Linked DNA regions of Homo sapiens: all the other regions are linked to region 2. The links are contacts of gene promoters, found by promoter capture Hi-C in blood cells and fetal thymus (Javierre and others, 2016). All regions are on one chromosome and are shown on one strand. The core of a region is centred on a gene start or on the middle of the fragment in contact, and the rest is flanking DNA. Distances in the headings are between cores, read along the strand shown.

Region 1 (2,700 bases), core at 165-2,664, about 10 Mb before region 2:
CAGCCTTAGGTTATAAACTCTTTAAAGCAAAAACAAAGAGAGGGTCGAGGTGGGAAATTATAAAAACCAGTTTAGACATCCACAGAAGTCCAATTAAATAAGGACTGAAAAGCAATCATTGGATTTAGATGTTAGGATCACATTAGTGATAGGAGCAAGAGCAGTTTCAGCGCAGTATGTTGTCATCATAAATGCACAGAATGTTAATCTGTAATATCCTACTGGATTAAGTAGATTATCTGTCTTACCTGTTTTAACTTCAGTTTTACATCTTCAAGGCCACCAATCTCCTCCCAGTCAACAGGCTTGATATCCATTAATCCAATGACGCTTCGAAACGATGAGGGCTGAATATTTTTAAAAGCTTCAAGGAAGTCTATTTCATCAATCACAGGATTGTCCTGGTTCTGAAGAAATACACCCAAAAAAGCAAAATCAAACCAAAAATTAGGTTGGTCTTTTTTTATAGCACAATTTGTTTTTAAAATCTTCTTTTGGATTTGTAAAGTTATTTTGTTATCATTATAAAAACAATTTATATACATAGTACAAAGAATTAAATGTCTCCCTGCCAATTCCTGCCAGTAATTCTTCCCCGAAAGATGTCAAGAGTTTGTGTATTTTTCCAGTATGTTATGCTAGTAAGCATACATATATCCTTTTAAACAGATACACAAATGGAACCATACTATATCAGCCTGTACTTTTCTTCTTTCACCTATCTTAGAGAGCTTTTCATGTCAACTAACACAGTTCTACGTCATTCTTTTTGACAATTCCATAATACACTACTGAATTTACCCCAACTACACCTTTCTGACAAACGTTAGGTCATCCCCAGTCTTTAGATATTAAAAACAAAGCTGCAACTGAAAAAGTCTTTGTGCTCATGTTCAAGTATTTGTTTATTTTGAGACAGGGTCTCACTCTGTTACCCAGGCTGGAATGCAGTGATGTTATCATAGCTCACTGCAGTCTCCCAGGCTCAAGTAATCCTTGCACCTCACCCTCCGGAGTAGCTAGAACTACAGGTATGTGCCACCAGCCTGGCTAATTAAAAAAATATATATATTTTTTTTTTGTAGAGATGCGGTCTCCCTATGTTGCCCAGGCTGGTCTGGAACTCATGGGCTCGAGCGATCCTCCCACCTCAGCCTCCCAAAGTGCTGGGATTACAGGCATGAGCCACCATGTTCAAACTCATGTTCAAGTATTTTATGTAATAATTTCCTCAAAGTAGAATTACTGGGTTTACAAGTACACACATATACAATTTTGACAGCTATTACCAAATTGTCCTCTAAGGAAGCTGCAACAATTTATTCTTCTCCGATAATATGAAGCTGTGTTCTCTCCACACCTCTCCAGTACAGACATTATCAAACTCTTTTTTTTTTTTTTTTTGGCGGGGTCTCACTCTGTCACCCAGGTTGGAGTGCAGTGCTGTGATCTTGGCTCCCTGCAGCCTCCGCCTCCTGGGTTCAAATGATTCTCGTGCCTCAGCCTACCGAGTAGCTGGGATTTATAGGCATGAGCCACCACACCTGACTAATTTTTGTATTTTTAGCAGAGACGGGGTTTCCCCATGTTGGCCAGGCTGGTCTTGAACTCCTGACCTCAACTGACCCACCCATCTCAGCCTCCCAAAGTGCTGGGATTATAGGTGTGAGCCACCGCACGTGGCCCATTTCCAAACTCTTAAATGTCTGCCAATATGACAGGAAGAACCAGTACTCATTCATTACTGTGTTAACTAAATTTCTTCAATTCAAAATGAGGTAGAGGGAATATTGGAATTAAAAAAATCGCCCGTCTTGCAATCATGATAGTAAAGGCTGTTATGAGCAAGAATTGGATGCTATGTTGAGGGGAGTAAAAGTTTATTCATTTATGAGACAGGGTCTTGCTCTGCTGCCCAGGCTGGAGTGCAGTGGCATTGAGGCAACAGCTCATTGAGCCTCGAACACCTGGGCTCAAGTGATCATTCTATCTCAGCCTCCTGAGCAGCTGGGACTACAGGTGTAAGCCACTGTGCCCAGCCTGAAAGTTTGATGAGGAGCAGGATATCTCAAAGTGTCTCCCCACAGATTTCTCATTAGTGGCAAAGGGAAAAATAGCAGTTCCACAGTGGAGAAACTGCGCACTGCCTGAACTAGTTGATAAAAGTTAGCATCACCAATGAGGAACCAATGTACACTCTGTGCCTCTACATGTGAGGCTCTAAGGACACAACACTATACATCACCATACTGTGGTGACATATGGGAACATTTCTGTTCTTAGGAAATAGACATTAAAATGTTAAGGGATAAAGTGTCATGATATATGCAACCCATTCTCTCAAATAGTCCAAAATAAATAAATACTATGTGCATATAAATACATATATATGGAGATGACAGAGAGAGAGAGAAAGAGAAGAGGAGAGGGAGCAAGGAGAGCAAAAGAGAATGATAAAGCTTATTTGGCAAAAAGTTAAAAATTGGTGAATTTGGATAAAGGGTTTAGTGGAAGTTCTTTGTAACTATCTTGCAACTTTCCTATAAGTTTTAATTATTTCAAAATAAAGACAATAATTTTAGAAGAAATCAAGGTTGAACATCTTTCATGTTTATTGTCATTCCTTTTATTGTCAACTACCTGTTCATACCCCATTACCCATTTTCTCTTGGACTGTTGGTCTTTTCTTACTGATTTGTA
Region 2 (2,700 bases), core at 195-2,694:
AAATGCTCATAGTGGCTTTATTTGTAATAACTGAGAACTTGGAACAACTCAAATGTCTATCAGCAGATGAATAGTTTATCAAACTGTGGTATATCAGTAAAATGGAACGAATGTTAAGCAATAAAAAAGGAATGAACTACTGATACATGCAACAACATGAATCCATCTCAAAATCATTTCGTTGAGTGAAAGAAGGCATGCACTGTATTATTTCATTTATATAAAATTCCATGAAAAGCAAACTATAGTGACAGAAAGCAGATCAGTGGTTGCCTGAAAAGTGGGTGGGAACAGTGAAAGGCACAGATAGCAAAAGTTCACGAGGAAACTTTTAGAGGCTTTGATATGCTCATTATGATTTTGGCAATAGTTTCACAAATGTATGTTCATGTCAAAACGCATCAAATTTTACAACCTAAATATGTGTGGGTTATTGTATGTGAATTATTTTTATTATTATTTTATTTTTATTTTTTGAGGCTAGTCTCGCTCTGTCACCAAGCTGGAGTGCAATGGCGCAATCTCGGCTCACTGCAACCTCCGCCTCCCAGCTTCAAGTGATTATTCTCCTGAATCCGAGTAGCTGGAACTACAGGCGCGCGCCACCACGCCCGGCTAAATTTTGTTTTTTAGTAGAGATGGGTTTTCACCATGTTAGCCAGGCTGGTCTCAAACTCCTGACCTCAGGCAATCGGCCAGCTTCAGCCTCCCAAAACGCTGGGATTACAGGCGTGACTACCGCGCCTGGCTGGGTTATTGTATGTCAATTTTTACCTCCATAAAACTGTTAAGGCCTGTAATCCCTGCACTTTGGGACCCTGAGGCAGGCGGATTACCTAAAGTTGGTGAGTTCGAGACCAGCCTGACCAATACGGAGAAACCCTGTGTCTACTAAAAATACAAAAATTAGCTGTGCATGGTGGCGCATGCCTGTAATCCCAACAACACGGGAGGCTGAGGCAGGAGAATCGCTTGAACCCGGGAGGCAGAGGTTGCTGTGAGCCGAGATTGCACCATTGCATTGCAGCCTGGGCAACAAGAGCGAAACTCCGTCTCAAAAAAAACAAAACTAAACTAAAACACTGTTAAGGGCAGTTAAAACCCAGCCCATATTCCCAGGCTGTTTTTTTTGTTTTGTTTTGTTTTTTCTTTAGGGTTGAAAAAAAACTAAATCCCCATTCACCGCACACGGCACTCTTCACTAACCACGAGAAACCCCACCCAACACCATCCACCGGGTCCCTCCCTTGCCCTCCTAATCCCGCCAGCGAGGTGTCTTCTCTCTGCCGCCCGCTAGAGGGCGTGTACAGAGGAGGTCAAAGCTCTTGGCTCGCTAGCTCAGCCCCAACGCCTGCATGAACTTCCGGCTACACGCCATTCCGCTTCCCGAGGAACGCTTGGGCTGTTGTACGGGTTCCCTACGGGACTCTGAAGGCTGAGGATATCCGGCCCGGAGCGTTTGTGCGGCGCGGAGTTAAGCGCCCCGGCAGTAACTTAAGGGAAGTGGACCAGGGTTGCCGCTGCCCAGAGCGGTCCTTTAGTTTCCACTGGAGTGGAGGGAAGAGTGCTGCCATGGCAGCCCCTGCGCAGCCCAAGAAGATCGTGGCCCCTACGGTGTCCCAAATCAATGCGGAGTTCGTGACCCAGGTGAGCTCGGGCGAGTCTGGTGTGTGTGAGTGGGTATGGACGTCGTGGCCCCGAGGCCTGGTGGTGGGGTTTTTTTTCAGGATTTAGGAGTCCGGAGGAGGCATTCGTTTGTTAATTGATTCACACACGTCTTTTTACTGAGTATCAGCTCCGTGCCGGCCACTATGCTAGGTGCTGGGCATACCGTGGTGAAAGAAGCTGCCCTGCCCTGGGGAGTTCATGGCCCAAGGAAGACAGACGCATGAAAATAAAACTACTGTATGAGTTTTGCTGTGTTGGAGTTTGTCTCAGGAGCAATGGATTCAGAGAGGAGGGAACACCCCAGTCTATCTGAGACTGGCAAGTAGGCTTCGCAGCAGAGTGATGCTGGACTGCCTCTTCAAGTAGGAGTAGGCTTTTTCCTGGTCCTTAGAGTGTCCTGAGTTTTTGAGCAGCGATGAGAAACTGACAAGACACCTCCAAATAGACCTATCTAAAAACAGAGTAATTCTGTAGTTTGAGAGCGTTCATTTAGAATCTGTTTACTATCTTGCATTGTGAGCCACAGTTGGCTTTGGATAGGGAACCACAGTCCTGTGGTTGTCAGCATCATTCCTCATTCTTATTATTTATTTGTGAATTGCATAAGAGTGTAAGTAGTTCAATGTAGAAGTTATCATGCCCACCTGCTTCTTTATTCTTTATTCCTTGTCTCAACAGATTTGCCAGGGCAGAAGCCTAGGGAGTGATTTTGAATCCTCCCTTTCCCTTAGTCCCTACATTTCTACATTCTAAATATCTTTTGAATCTATCTGGTGTTCTACATCTCTGTCACCCTAAGCTTGGTTGCCATTGTTTTCTGCCTGGACCAAGGTATCGTAATCTGTTATATTGTCCTTCCTCTTGCTCTGCTCTAGCCCATTCTTCATGTTGCTTTCCGAGTGATTTCATACAAGTGCAAATCTCATCATATCACTTGCCTTCTTAAAATTTCTGCCTTCCGGCCGGGCGCAGGGGCTCACGCCTGTAATCCCAGCACTTTGGGAGGCCGAGGCGGGCGGATCACGAGGTCAG
Region 3 (2,700 bases), core at 185-2,684, about 15 Mb before region 2:
TAAGAGGCATCTACTACTCATTACAATTTGTAAAATATCCCATAAGGTAAAATATATTATCCTATAAATTTTAAAAATTTACAGAGTAACATTAATGTCCACTTACTCTAAGAATTTATGTTTTTTAAAAACATACATCATTCAGATTCTTTAGTACTAGAGAAAAATGGTAAAATAACTTTCCCACTTAATATTTTCTTCAAAGAAGGGTGATGGCTGCCAAAATTGCTATCTGTATACCCTGTAAGGAAGATATCTTTCAAGGGAGAAACAACACTGGTGCCCTATTGATTCGATATGCATTCCACAGCTGTAAAATAATTCTCTTATTATAAAGCCTTCTGGCATTGTGGTTTAACTACGAAGCTCCAGGCACTTTAAGTAGAAACAGGGACAAGAGAAATGCTGTGACTCCAGCAGGAAACATTTTGTGGTCTCCCAAACAGAAAGTGAACAAAAAGTCCAGAGAAACATAAAATACAACATAATTTGCTGAGAAGAAGTTAGTGGCACTAATTTAATTACTCATCAAATGAATTTTTCTTTTTCTTTTTTTTTTTAAGATTGTAAGTCCCAGTGAGTTTGAGATACAAATAAAGAGATACAAAAACGCCGGTTATAGTAGAAAAAGGCACTTGCCAAATGTACCCAAGGGGAAAAACAAAATACAGTAAATATTTTTGCTGTGTACTGATTACGCACAGATTTGCATTTTGGGTAAGAAAGCAGTATTTAAGAACAATGGTCCAATCCCTTGTTCCTGCCTCACAAATAGAAAATCTTACCTACTTCTGACTGCCACTCCAACTCACCTGCCTAAAAATGGCTTTGATCTTTGTGATCATGCCCTCAATGACTGAAAGTGCAGGATATTAAGATGCCCTCTTTTCTTGAGCCTCAGATTCTTTTAGGAATCACATGAAAATATTAAACCGCATCCCTAGAAAATGCATATACAGACACAATATTTTGCACACAATTTCAGGAGGTTTGGAGATCTCCTAGAGTCCATCTACGACCCAGGTAAGGAAGTTCCAAGCTTGGGAAGGGCCACGCATGGTGGCTCATGCCTATAATACTAGCATTTGGGAGGTTAAGGTGGGAGGATTACTTGAGCACAAGAGTTTGAGAACAGTCTGGACAACAAAGTGAGATCCCATCTCTAAAACAGAGAAAAAAAAAAAGCTTGGGAAGAGATCCTAATAGTCCCCAGAAATGAGAGTTGCAAATGCTCTGTTGGCGTCTCTTTGCTGCACATACGAAGCTAAGTTTCACCTAAACTCTCTTTGGGTTTGTCCTGGTGTTGCCTGAGGTTCTTACAGAGAAACATTTTGAGGCTTTAATAGTCCTGAGTTATTCAGATGATGGGATTCATCCTAAAAAATGAAATTTGATTGGAGTAGCTCAACCTGACTTCATTTCCCTGGGTAATGGAGTAGCTATTTAGTGGGAATGCATGTACCACTCAAAGGCCCAGGCATAGTGGGACTGAAAAATGTAGTTCCTGTGGATGTCATGAAAGTTACTGTGGTTGCCTGACATTTAACAGAAAACTACTGGTGAGTTTTTGGAGTTATCCTAGGGCACTGAAAGTGCATTCCTCCTAGAGATACCTCAGAAATATCACTTTGCAGTTCATGGACCTGCTATCCACATAACTAAATGGATATTAGTGAAGCTTTATATAAATAACCTTCCTCTAGAAAAATCAACCACCACAAATACCTGTAAGACAGTAAAAGAGAAATGTTTATGGCTCCACCTCTTAGTTCACCTATATACTCTCACTTATGGCTGAGGTGGCCACGTAGAAGAGGCCAGCAATTGTAAATCATGGGCAGCTCCCTCCAGTGGTCTCTGAAACTACATGATCAGGGCATCTGTCCTAACCGAGCCAACAGCCTGCCTCGACTGTGAGAAAATCATTGCAAATGATTTTATTGCAAATGGGGTTATTTAAAATTTTTAAAACATACTTGTTAACATCAAATATGTGCAAGGAAGTACAATTTGAGTCATGGGGGCTAAAAAGACTTAGAAAACATAAAGACTGTTCCTAAGGAACTAACAATTTTAACACCTTGATGGTGCGTCCATCATTCTGGAACTTAAGGCTAAAAATACATTAATTTTTTATTCCTCCTTCTACCCAATTTCCACCCCAAATTAATTATACTCACCAAGTTGCATCTACCTTGTATATAATCCTCTATCTTCACTCTCAAAGTCAGGATTCTAATTCAGTTCCTTATTAACTCATAGATGGGCCACAGCAATGTCTTAAACCTCTTTGAGTACTTATTATTAGTTCCACATATTTGACATGGAAAAATGCATTTATTGTGGAGGTACTTTAGTGAATCTATCCCCTCCAGCATTCAACTCTGTAAGAGCAGATTCCTTCCCTGATCTCACCTATTCCTGATTCTTATGCAACAGCAGGAACTCAACAAACACTTGTTAACTAAATCAAAACCATTCTGCAAAACACATCCAGTAAGCATCTCACTACTGAAGTATCTGACAAACTACCTTTATGGGCCGTCTGCAGCCTAGCACAAGTGGCAGGCTGGCAATTTTTTTTTCTCCAAAATAATAACAAAAAGCTTCTACCTCTTCCATTATTGTAAGCTGACTCACCTCCCAATGGAACACTATACAGACTCCCCTGTCCTATATTGTGGACCAATTCAGTATTAG

Evidence for each region. The method cuts DNA at HindIII sites, captures the fragments that hold promoters and counts their contacts. A CHiCAGO score of 5 or more calls a contact.
Region 1: a fragment that was not itself captured here is called in contact with the fragment with the promoter of AQR in region 2 in 1 of 17 cell types (total CD4 T cells); the score reaches 5.1 in total CD4 T cells.
Region 3: a contact is called between a fragment that was not itself captured here and the fragment with the promoter of AQR in region 2, in 6 of 17 cell types (naive CD8 T cells, total CD4 T cells, total B cells and 3 more). The highest score is 14.1, in naive CD8 T cells.

The regions. Positions count from the first base shown.
Region 1 is chr15:45,408,079-45,410,778 of GRCh38, reverse strand. It overlaps AFG2B (AAA ATPase AFG2B), which reads right to left. Exons shown (of 8, transcript NM_024063.3): 3 at 249-407. Among named protein-coding and RNA genes, the nearest start is that of AFG2B, 7.1 kb to the right of the region's middle. The HindIII fragment of the contact is 2,095 bases long and covers 367-2,461 here.
Region 2 is chr15:34,968,486-34,971,185 of GRCh38, reverse strand. AQR (aquarius intron-binding spliceosomal factor) reads left to right here and starts at 1,444. Exons shown (of 35, transcript NM_014691.3): 1 at 1,444-1,647. The coding sequence starts at 1,573. RefSeq lists enhancers at 1,341-1,450, 1,501-1,650. The HindIII fragment of the contact is 5,969 bases long and covers 1-2,469 here.
Region 3 is chr15:49,621,911-49,624,610 of GRCh38, reverse strand. The region is part of intron 1 of DTWD1 (DTW motif tRNA-uridine aminocarboxypropyltransferase 1); the gene reads right to left. Among named protein-coding and RNA genes, the nearest start is that of DTWD1, 2.2 kb to the right of the region's middle. The HindIII fragment of the contact is 493 bases long and covers 1,188-1,680 here.